Regions from separate parts of the Homo sapiens genome. Here all the other regions are linked to region 2. The links are contacts of gene promoters, found by promoter capture Hi-C in blood cells and fetal thymus (Javierre and others, 2016). All regions are on one chromosome and are shown on one strand. The core of a region is centred on a gene start or on the middle of the fragment in contact, and the rest is flanking DNA. Distances in the headings are between cores, read along the strand shown.

Region 1 (3,998 bases), core at 648-3,147, 270 kb after region 2:
TTAGATTGATATCCGTTTGTTTCATAGATGAAGATACTGAAACTTTATCAATATCGGTGAAAGATTCGTAGTCATAGACCAGCTTTTGATCCCTAAAGAACCCCCGCCTTCTTTATCCCAGGACTTTACTTTTGGAAAGATAAAGTGATTTTTTTATCATGGCAAATATAGTTTTTGTATTATATACTTGCTGTAATAATGGATCTATTTACTATTATTTATTTCAGTAGCATGCGTACACATAAAATTGATCTGTTTAGCATCTCCTCTCTCCTTCACTTTATAAGAGGAAGAAAGCGTTGCTTCCACTTTCCAGGTAGAGAAACTAGGCCCAGCTTTTCAGTGATTACAATTAATTAAAGTGTAACCAAACCTAAAATAAGACTTGTCACTTTCTGGCTCAGTATTGTGGTCTCACACATATATGAATACGACCTTCCTTGTGTCTACCTCAACAGGCTTCCGATGGAAGCAGCTCCAGAGAAGATCTTTCATCCCAGCTTCTGAGAAGGAATGAACAGATACGGAAGTTAGAGGCCAGACTTTCTGGTATGTCTAAGAACTCATAAAAAGCAAACAACAGGAAACTTGCCTTGCTTGACTCTCTTCCTATAAAATAGCCATATAGGATGACTTTATAGTTATTTTCACATATCATTTTGATCTTTTTAGAAAGGAGCAAGTATACCCTCTTCTTTTGTTAGTGTAGTAAATAGTATAAATTCAAAACTGAATTTGAAAGTTTATTAAAAAATTTTTTCTGCTCCTGAGGTTTCTAGCCATGGAAATAAAAGATAATAATAATATATGTACAATAGATTTGACCATCTTCCACCATTAGCATAGCCTGCTTTCAGGTGGAAAGGGATGGCGTTAGTATTTAAAGGGAATGGCCAACAGATATTGGATTCATCAGCACCAGAGATTGGTGCTGTGTTGCCACTTCCTGCAGCTCATACCACCTGTGTAAGTGTTGTTGTAGGTCTTTGGGCCACTTTTCAATGGTATTTCTGACTTCAGCACCTGCATAGAAGGTGTCACTCTCATTATGTCTTTTGTCTGCAGTTTACAATTTACACAGCTCCCATTATATCCTTTGCCTGAGGAGGGCATGGTCATGATAGAATTGTGAGTTATTATTTTGGTTTCTGCCAGTGGATACATTTGGAAAGCTTCATCCTGTAAAGTGGTTCATGGCTTCTGTGTCTCTTTTTGTCCCTTGGCCTTTTAATGCCCATTTTATTGGAGTAAAACAGCAGACCGAAGTTCACCAAGTGGTATGTGAAATATTTATATTTGTGTAGCTATCAGACCCAAATTCACCAAATTGTATGTGAAGTATTTGTATTTATGTAGTTATCAAAGGTTCATAGCATAGCTCACAACTACCAGTTAATTATTTTGTCCTCACTAGAGCCTTATTAGGCTTAGCAAGGTTAAGGCCTCACAAGTAGTAAGTGGTAGAGCTGGGATCCAAACCCAGATTTATTTGATGCTAGAGTCTTAATTCCATCTGCCTTAAACTTAATTGTTGCTATCCTGTTACTCCTACCCATAAATAATATCAGTAACAGAGGTAAAGTAATTTTACATTTGTTTAATGTTGGAGAGAGAGTTATAAAATAATATATATACCTTCCCCATATGGTAGGAAGAATAGTTGAGCTTGACTTACGTTAGAGAAGGGACAGGGAAGAGCACTGACATTTACTGGGCCCACTATGTGGTGAGTATTGTCCTACAGTATTAGTATGAGTAATGATAATAGTCACAGTAACAATAAGAGCTACATTTTATTGAGCACTGTGTGCAAAGCACTTAAGGCACGTAAAATGTTTTATCTAATGCATCTTTTGTGGTAGGTACAATTAATATCATCATTTAATATATGAAGAAACTAATACTACAGGACCAATAATTTGCTTAAGGTCCCCAGCTAAGGACTGACAGAGTTGGGATTTGAGCTACTATGTTTTCACTAAACCATAACTATCTTCTTTGGCCACCTAGATAATTAATTCTGACATTCACATTTAATGTAGCGTAGGTTACCAAGTTCCTGTGTAGAAAGGGAGCTCACTTTTTTAGAGAATTAAGTGCTATCACTATAAAGACAATGCTGCACCTAAGGTGTTTGTTATTGCCCTAACTACTGTTCCTGAGTTGTGTGGACTATAAGCGAGCTGTTTAGTGAGTTCACTTTGATCTATCCTACTGCTAAGACCGGAAAAGGAAGTGGAAACTGAGATTTGAAATTAAGTCATGAGATAAATCTGTGTTTTTCATAGCAGGACATTTCTGATCACCAGGCTAAGCCTAATTCTTGTTTTTCTATCAAGGCTAAACAAACTTGCCTTTTTGTACTCACCATTTATACACCATGGATAGTTTGTACTATACTTGTTTTCCTGTGTTGTTCATTGTTAATGGGAGGCTGTCTGTCTAGCTTTCCTTAACAGGAATGGTTTTCAGGTTAAGAAAATCATCATCATTTCCATTCATTTTTTTGTTTAATTAACTTCCTTTCCTGATGTTTGTCCATTTCTGGTATGTGCGTCACCCTCCTCACCCAAGACTATGCTGAACAGGTCCGAAACTTGCAGAAGATAAAAGAGAAGCTTGAAATTGCATTAGAAAAACACCAGGATTGTACGTATTTTTTTCCTGCTTTTTTCAATCTTTTCAAGGTTTAGTTTTTGAAATGAAACAATAGTGTATGGTTAAGTTTGTCCTTCTTCAAAGCACAAATCTTTATTTTATAAGTAGTGTACTTCTTAATCAGGTTGATATAACATTTGGATGATATTTATAAGTATGCAAGTTTTATTTATGTTGGCTTATGGGCATGACTCTTAGGAGTAGGTCATTATGTGTATCAGCTTGTCTCTATCCAGTTGACCCCTTTATTTAGGCTACCCTCAGGTTTTAATAAAATCTAGTACCCATCCCTTAGGTCTGGATTAGGAAATGGGTTCTCACCACAGCTTCATTACTGCTGTGTTGAGTAACTGGGAGAAATCCCTGTCATCACTCCCTCAGCAATAAATCATACATTTTGTGTAGTCTACCCTCAATCATATATTCTTTGGGTACCATCCAAGAAAGATGTTAGTAGAAGTAGAAAGTTATTTTTTTTGTTGATATGTACTAAAACTTTTAAGGAAAATAAAGTAAAAGAAAGGTTTTTTGTTTGTTTTGATTTTTCTTTTTGTTTTTAATTCTGATAAAGTGGTAGTAGCCATCACTTAGCATCAGCTTTGATGTTTTCTGGCAACCTACCTAACTCAGTGTTCTATCATTGTACCATTTAAAAAGTTACCTTTTGGCATCTTTGTAAATATATATACTTGTCTATTACAAAAAACAAAAACGATAAGGAAACAAACAAAAACTGTGGTCTATTACCAAGGCCAAAATATTCTTCTGGAAAGTTGAGGTGGATCCAGCTTTTCCTAGTATCACAATCCACTTATGTGACTTTGGCCTTTTTCATTAGGTGACAGTTGTAATCACATGGGCTATTTGTCATGCTGTTTCTGAAGTGTTTTCATATCTCAAATAGAGCCTCTTTGTTAACAGCTTCCATGCGGAAATTTCAAGAGCAGAATGAGACATTCCAAGCCAACAGAGCCAAAATGGCAGAAGGACTGGCTTTGGCATTAGCCAGAAAGGACCAGGTATTTTATATGTGGCACTGCCCAGAACTGGTGGAAAGATTTCACTTAGTGACGTGATTTCAAAAATCATGACATAACCTATAGAAAATATTTATAGCCTAGGAGAAGAGAAATGTTAAAAGTTCGTTAAGGTTTTCTTTGGCCTTTTCTTGTAAAGTGAAGAAACTTTACAGTTCTAATCATGAAATGTGTCCAGAATGTGAGAGTATCATTCCTTGTATCTGTGTAGTTTCATAAAATTGAGAAGGGAAATAGTGTATCTGTAATCTGATGGCAGGCCCCAAAATAAGAGAAAAGGTCTCTCCCCTCTAAAAACCTCTC
Region 2 (3,981 bases), core at 972-3,471:
TGCCTCCCAGGTTCAAACGATTCTCCTCCCTCAGCCTCCCGAGTAGCTTGGATTACAGGCATGTGCCACTACGCCCAGCTAATTTTTCTATTTTTAGTAGAGATGGAGTTTCACCATGTTGGTCAGGCTGGTCTCGAACTCCTGACCTCAGCTGATCCACCCGCCTCAGCCTCCCAAAGTGCTGGGATTACAGGTGTGAGCCACCGTGCCTGGCCTATGTATTTATCTTTATTATTATTTTTAGATAGAGTCTCACTCTGTTGCACAGGTTGGAGTGCAGTGGTGCAATCTCCACTCACTGCAACCTTCCCCTCCCAGGTTTAAATGATTCTCCTTTCTCAGCCTCCTGAGTAGCTGAGATTACAGGTGCCCACCCACGCCCAGCTCATTTTTCTAGCTTTTCTAGTAGAGACGGGGTTTTACCACACTGGCCAGGCTGGTCACTAACTCCTGACCTCAGGTGATTTGCCCGCCTCAGCCTCCCAAAGTGCTGGGATTACAGGCATGAGCCACCGTGCCTGGCTTTATTTTTTATTTTTATTTTTTCTGAGATGGAGTCTCACTCTGTCACCCAGGCTGGAGTGCAGTGGCAGGATCTCAGCTCACTGCAACCTCTGCCTCCCGGGTTCAAGCTATTCTCCTGCCTCAGCCTCCAGAGTAAGCTGGGACTACAGGCAAGTGCCACCACACCTGGCTAATTTTTTTTGTATTTTTCGTAGGGATGGGGTTTCACTATGTTCGCCAGGCTGGTCTTGAACTTGGCTCGCCTCGGCCTCCCAAAGTGCTGGGATTACAGGCGTGAGCCACTGAGCCCGGCCATTTATTTATTTTTTAATTAAAAATAGAAACGGGGCTGGGAGCAGTGGCTCACGCCTGTAATCCCAGCACTTTGGGAGGCCGAGGCAGGCGGATCATGAGGTCAGATCGATACCATCCTGGCCAACATGGTGAAACCCTGTCTTTACTAAAAATACAAAAAAAATTAGCTGGGCGTTGTGGCCCACGCCTGTAGTCCCAGCTACTCAGGAGGCTGAGGCGTGAGAATTGCTTGAACCCAAGAGGCGGAGGTTGCAGTGAGCCGAAATTGCGCCACTTGCACTCCAGCCTGGCGACAGAGCAAGACTCCTCCTCAAAAAAAGAAAAAAAAATAGAAATGGAGGTTTCGCTTTGTTGTCCAGGCTGGTCTCGAACTCCTAGCCTCAGGCAATTCTTCCACCTCAGCCTCCTAAAAAGCTGGGATTACAGGTGTGAGCCACTGCTCTCCGCTCAAAGGACAAAATATTTAAAGAAGCTGAGAAATACTGAGCTCTGGGATAAATCTTGGCCTCAACATAGCATAGAAAGTAAGGCCTTCTGCTGTTGAGCTTTTTTCCCGTGAACTCACCTCCACAATCTCTTGCATTATTGGTTTTTTTGCTGTTCTTGTAATATGGCAGGCCTTTTCATAATTTTGCAGCCTGTTCTGCTTCCCCTATTTGGAATGTCGCTTCCCTTCTGGGAAATTTGCAAACTCCTAGTTAACCTTCAAAGCCCAGTTCAAAAGTCCCTTCCCTGGTGAAACCTTCCCTGATTTGCCCTTTTCTCTTCCACCCACATCCAAGTTACTTCCTTCTTCCACCCACTGGGCTCTGAAGGTATTAGCCATCACCATTGCAGGAATCATTTGGAATGTTTATCTATTTAAGGCTTCTAGACTAGATTCTAGATTAAATTCCACTAGACTAAGTTCCTAGAGGGCTGGGCCTGTCAGATCCATTCCGAGAACCTACCAATGGACCTGGCATGGAGTAGAAGTGGGGGAGTGGCTAGTGAATGAAGAAAGAAAATAGATTGAGAGATGAATGGATAAATCTCACCTGCGGCCTAGGCCACTGACAGCTGTCCCCAAAGTCCAGAGCTCAGTTAGGCTGGCTTCACGTGGGCGGGACCTCCCGCAGCAGCCGCCGCTACCAGCCCAGCAAATCTCATCCCCACGTGGCAGTTCTAGGGGATAGGAGACGGGGTCGGGAAAGAACAGGCTGATTCGGTCAAAGTGGCCGGGACGGAGCCAGGGAAGGCCCTTCCCCGTTCTTTGCACCCGGCTTGGGCCCACTCCCCTAAAAGATTCAGACTCCCTGCCCGAGACCGTGATAGACCCGGTATCCGGGGACCCTCGCCCCTACCCTCCAGCCCCGGACTGCAATACCTGCGGCGACTTAGGCCAGTCGCGAGCCGTGACTCCACCCCGGAGGGGCGGGGCTTAGGTCCGGGCCCTCCTCCCAGGACCCGGAAGAGCGTCCGGGCCAACCGCTCCCTCTTCCCTGCTCCGCCCCGAGGGCCCGGCGCTGACTTCCTGGGCTGGCGGTGGAGGGGTCCCCCAGACCGGGAGTGGACGCCAGGCTCTGCATTTCTCGGGAACCAAGTGGGGTGGGCCTTCCCTGGGTCCCTCCCTCCCGGACGGGATAAATAAGCCGGGGCTACTTGGAAACGATTTGCGCAATGCCGGGTTCGGGCGTCCGTTTGGGGAACTCAGATGCCTGCGGCAGCTGATCTACTCTGTAAGGGGCTAACAGGGCTGGGCGCCACCACACTCCAGCTTGGGCAACAGCGCAAAAACTCCCTCTCAAAAAAATAAATAAATAAAAGGGGGGGAGGGTATAACAGTTACATTTCCAGTTACAACGATTGTTTTTTTTTTTTTTTTTTGAGACGGAGTCTCGCTCTGTCGCCCAGGCGGGACTGCGGACTGCAGTGGCGCAATCTCGGCTCACTGCAAGCTCCGCTTCCCGGGTTCACGCCATTCTCCTGCCTCAGCCTCCCGAGTAGCTGGGACTACAGGCGCCCGCCACCGCGCCCGGCTAATTTTTTTTGTATTTTTAGTAGAGACGGGGTTTCACCTTGTTAGCCAGGATGGTCTCGATCTCCTGACCTCATGATCCACCCGCCTCGGCCTCCCAAAGTGCTGGGATTACAGGCGTGAGCCACCGCGCCCGGCCACAACGATTGTTAACAGTTTCTAAAGGGGAGAGTTGAGCATGCAATCCTCCTGCGCAGTCTTCGGGCCAGCTCAAGATTTGGTGCTTTAAACAGCTGATTCATTCCATAATTGCCATTTGTAATTATGGCAGGTGCTATGCTGAGCCAGACACCACCACGCTTTGCCTCCAGGAGCAAGTCTTAACTAGAGAGAGATCAAAGAAAAAGACAACTAGGGACGACTGCCAAGAGTGCAATAAATATAAAGTTCAGCCAGGAGAGTATCTGTTCTGAAGTTACTTTCCTCCAGGCCTCAGGGTTGTCTGTTTGTAACCATGGAGCTAATAAGATTTCTATCATAGGCTGGGCGCGGTGGCTCACGCCTATAAGTCCAGCACTTTGGGAGGCCGAGGCGGGCGGATCACGAGGTCAGGAGTTCGAGACCAGCCTGGCCTACATGGTGAACGCCCCCGCCCCCCCCCCCAACTAAAAACACAAAAATTAGCTAGGCGTGGTGGTGGGCGCCTGTAATCCCTGCTACTCAGGAGGCTGAGGCAGGAAAATTGCTTGAATCTGGGAGGCGGAGGTTGCAGTGAGCCGAGATAGTGCCACTGCACTCCAGCCTGGGTGACAGAGCCAGACTCCGTCTCAAGAAAAAAAAAAAAAAAAGAGAGATGTATGTAGTAGTTGTGGTGGGGAATACATGACATAATGTAAATAAAAGTGCTCAGCACCCAGCAGCTGGCACAGAGTTCTCTGTCAAGGGTAAAGCTATTCCTGACTATAAATGAACAATGTCTCTAGACATATTCAGAATCTACATTATCTTTGTTTTAGTTCATAACCATAGGTTCTCTGTGTCTTTCCTGAAAATAGAGAGGTGGCTTGCTCTCTTATGTCTGTTTCAAAGAACTCCAGTCTCTGAAACTGTCGCTGTGTCCTAGAAAATAGAGAAAACAGCTCAGGTTAGAAACAGGAGCTCCTGGAGTATAGAGCTATGGTAGCTTAGTGGGAAGAGATCAAACA
Region 3 (3,681 bases), core at 980-3,479, 430 kb after region 2:
ATCCGTGCCTTCATACGTTTATTAACTAGTCAAACATTTTGTTAGTTCAGGAGATCTGGTGTTTTTTACAAAAGGGAAAAGTCCGTGTAGAAGAGAGCTTGGTTAACTTCACTTGATGTTGCTGATCTTAAAAATAATGATGTGTTTTCAGAGCTCTTTTTTTTTTTTTTTTAATTTGTGTATGATGTATGATGGCTAGGTGGCTGGCCGTTCCGTGGGCTGTCGTTGGCAACTAATTTCTGAATGTGAACATGTTTGAGATCAATAAAATTCCGTGTCACAAAGGGGGAAGCTGGAATCCAGTTAGGGTAGAAGGAGACAGTATAATAGGAACAAAGGATTTCTTTAATGCCTTTGACTTTTTAAGCTAGTTTGTGTGGAGATTTGGTTTGGTATTAATTTGTGAGTGTTGTAAATCCTGATCTAAATTTTCCCATGCTGATTTTTTTGAATCCAAACCCCAACCTATCTTATATCCCATATTAGCGTGTATATTTCTGTGATGCCTTCCTATGTGTGAATACTTCCTGTACCCACCTGTGCATATAATGTAGATGACGGATTTTACTGCAATTCAATATTTACTGCAATATTGCTTTCAATTCTACTTGAGAATAATAGTGTTGTAAGAGAAACCTAAGAACTGCATTTGTTATTAATTATTCATTAGTACATTTTAAAGAACTCAATGGTAATTTTAACTCTTAATCAGATTTCCCATTCATAGTCTCATTTCCTCAATTGGTCAGAACCATTTGAAAGAATGTTATCGAGCAATCCATTTAGACTAAGGTGGCTTTAAAGCTTTACATTAGTCTAAGTTAGTGGTACAGATGTTTTCTTTTTGCTGAAAATACAATGGGAACTTTTGGCAGCTTGATGGGCTTAAAATACACTAGACGCTAGACCGTTGTGGGATATTTTTCAGTGTAAAAACTAGCATTGTGCAATGTTTTACAATTTATGTTCATTAGCACTTATGAAGTTAACATGCTCACAGAAGAATTGCCAAAAATTTTTTTAAGTTTGCCTATGGAACAATGGGCACATTTTTTCTTTTTTGCTTCCTAATTAATATTTTTCTCCAAAAATATATGAAACTGCTTGTTCTGAGTAGAAAAGAAATGAATTATCTGTTTTTTACTCCTAGTGACTGATTTCTATTTTATATGAACTATTTTCAAGAGACAACTATACAGATAGGGGGTCTTTTGGTCTCTGTCATGAAGAAATAAACTGGAGGTGGCATTTTAGAAATGTTTTCCTACCGGAAACACCATTGATGCTGAATTTACAGTCCTTTGAATGGTTTTTATTCTGTCAGAACAGAGTTTCTTTCTAGCCTTTTGATGCACCATCATCCTTCCAGGAATTCCCTGTGCTGACTGCGCTATTTTCAGTTGTTGCTTGTAGGTTTTCATAACAAACATGAACTCATTTAGTTGTAATAGAGGACTGCTCCCTTTTGGGATTTCAAAGGAAGATGAATGATTTGAGGAAGTGTATGCTGAATATTGCATTTGTTCATTTTAAGAGAATGAGGGAATATACTTTTAAATATTTAAAGCAAAGGAAGGCAAAGGAAGGTTATAAGCCATTATAAGTAATTAAAAGCATATTTTATGTAATTACACTTTAGAGGAAATGGGGAGAAGTTCACTGAATAGCACGGTGCCTTTTTCTTCTGCTATAACCATGCCGTCCAAATGTTTATGCTGGAAAATAAATTGGCAAATATTTCCCATGATGATTTAACTTTTCAGTTCTGTGATTTAAAAAATTAAGTTAATTCTGAGTTGCCCCAGAATTTTTTCCTACTCCCATTAGAAAAAAACAAAACCAAAAACATGCTGTAGTACTGTTGTTTCTTAGTACATACAGCACGCAGGTTTTTCTTTTTTTTTTTTTTTTCTTTTTTTGTAGCTTCTGTGACCTCCAAAGACGGCTAGGGTAGAAGAAAGGCGACAGTGAGCAAATTCACTGGTGATTTTGCATAGCTGAGGTGGGAGATGACCACATTTACAGTCTCCAGTGTACAAGCCACCAAATCATTCAGCAGTTCTGATTCATGTAACCAAAATATGATGACATGATTCCTAATCTATAATTCATTCTGACTTCCGTAGCAAAAAGGTGTATGCAAGGCACATGTGTTAGTACATGAAAGGGAGTTGGATGGGGAGCTAATGAAAAAAATAACTGCTGGTAAATTTCCAAAAATATGTCCAAATCATGCATTTCCATATTTTATTTAGAATTTTCTGGTTTCTCATTCCCTACTTTTTTCCTAGGGTTTTGGGGCAAAGGTGGAAAATAGAGTTTAGATTAAAATACCACATTTTAGAATAGTAGAGGATGGTAGGTAGAAATGCCAACTGTTGCTGTAACATTGGTAGAGGAAGTTTCTTATACCACCCCTAGTGTTTGTTGTGCAAGTTGGCTTTAAATTGCTAATGATGCTTGCATGTTTTGGAGCTTGGAGCTGTGTTTCATTTGTGTTAGTGGGAAGATTTACCACTTCATTTTTATAATTGGGTAGATATTATTTATTGGTTATGTTGAAAAATTGGTTTGTTAATGAATTGTGTTCAGATGGCAACTTCTAGCTTAAGAATTGCATAAAGCCAGGATAGATTCTCCCACATTAGGAGACTTCATTGTCAGCAAATTCATCGAGATCTTTGGGGCTGGTCATAATCTTTGCTTCTTAAGTTTATTTTTGATTTATAGCCAAATTAATGACACTTTTCTGTTCAGTATTTTTCCATGCATAATAATTAAGTTGAAAGTGACACTTGAGAAGATGTGTTTTAGAGTAAATTTTACATTGTTGGGTCAGTCTGTTTTTTTTAAGTAGGACAGTAAAAGTGCCTTATTTCATGTGTAAAAACAGATTCTAGTCATGTGGGAAAAAGGTCAGAATTAGAAAAATCAAAGTTCTGAATCAACAGATAAACACGCTTGTATTTCAATAAAGAATAAATGTGCTTGAAACAGTTTTTAACAGAAGGTAGCTATCTAATCTGCCCACATAAGTAGTGATCTGATATACCCAACTCTTTGTAATACTTTGAGAGCATTTCCAAAACCAATTAAGTTGTGAAGGAAAATGTTTTTCACACTTCTGCATTAAGATCAACCTTAACTTTTTAATTAAAGTTTTTTCCTGGCTCAGGTAATTTCTTAAGGGTTTATGGATGCCTTCGATAACTAGGGTTCAGAAATACCAGAATTATTAAAAATGAGCAAGAAAGTGGTTTGGTACTGAGCAGGTAATTCTTTCTTGGGTATTGAGCTTTTTAGAGCTTAAGTTTCAGATTCAGCTGAGCTTAAATTTAAAAAACGTCTCTAGATGTAACTTTGATATACAGTATTTCTAGAATCCAGCCCAGTCTTTTGTTCATTGATTGTTTTCCAACATGGCTTGTCTTTAAGAAAAAGACAAGGGTGTTAGACTGTAACACCCTTAGTAAGTAATAGAAAATCAGAAGAAAACCACTGTGAGATGTCTAACCTGTTTTTCAGTATGGCGGAGAAATAGCCACAGGAAAAAGAGGAGAGCATCATTTGAAAGAATAAAACATTTCCTACGGTATTTCGTTCTTCATTCTTTGTTACCTGCTATTAAACAGCAGCCTTTGTAGAAAAGCTTCTCAAAAAAACCCAGAGTTTTTTCAGTGG

Evidence for each region. The method cuts DNA at HindIII sites, captures the fragments that hold promoters and counts their contacts. A CHiCAGO score of 5 or more calls a contact.
Region 1: a contact is called between a fragment that was not itself captured here and the fragment with the promoter of RABEPK in region 2, in 11 of 17 cell types (M2 macrophages, total CD4 T cells, naive CD8 T cells and 8 more). The highest score is 9.7, in M2 macrophages.
Region 3: a contact is called between a fragment that was not itself captured here and the fragment with the promoter of RABEPK in region 2, in 1 of 17 cell types (naive CD8 T cells). The highest score is 5.8, in naive CD8 T cells.

The regions. Positions count from the first base shown.
Region 1 is chr9:124,927,867-124,931,864 of GRCh38, reverse strand. GOLGA1 (golgin A1) reads left to right here. Exons shown (of 23, transcript NM_002077.4): 4 at 459-549; 5 at 2,575-2,649; 6 at 3,580-3,677. Among named protein-coding and RNA genes, the nearest start is that of GOLGA1, 11 kb to the left of the region's middle. The HindIII fragment of the contact is 1,446 bases long and covers 1,175-2,620 here.
Region 2 is chr9:125,198,782-125,202,762 of GRCh38, reverse strand. RABEPK (Rab9 effector protein with kelch motifs) reads right to left here and starts at 2,221. Exons shown (of 8, transcript NM_005833.4): 1 at 1,857-2,221. It overlaps LOC105376271 (a long non-coding RNA gene), which reads left to right and starts at 2,367. Exons shown (of 2, transcript NR_135145.1): 1 at 2,367-2,537; 2 at 3,108-3,230. RefSeq lists a silencer at 2,294-2,343. The HindIII fragment of the contact is 9,581 bases long and covers 1-3,981 here.
Region 3 is chr9:124,765,744-124,769,424 of GRCh38, reverse strand. All of the region lies in intron 1 of NR6A1 (nuclear receptor subfamily 6 group A member 1), which reads left to right. LOC124900274 (a long non-coding RNA gene) reads left to right here. Exons shown (of 2, transcript XR_007061773.1): 1 at 1-3,681. Among named protein-coding and RNA genes, the nearest start is that of NR6A1, 3.7 kb to the left of the region's middle. The HindIII fragment of the contact is 2,845 bases long and covers 807-3,651 here.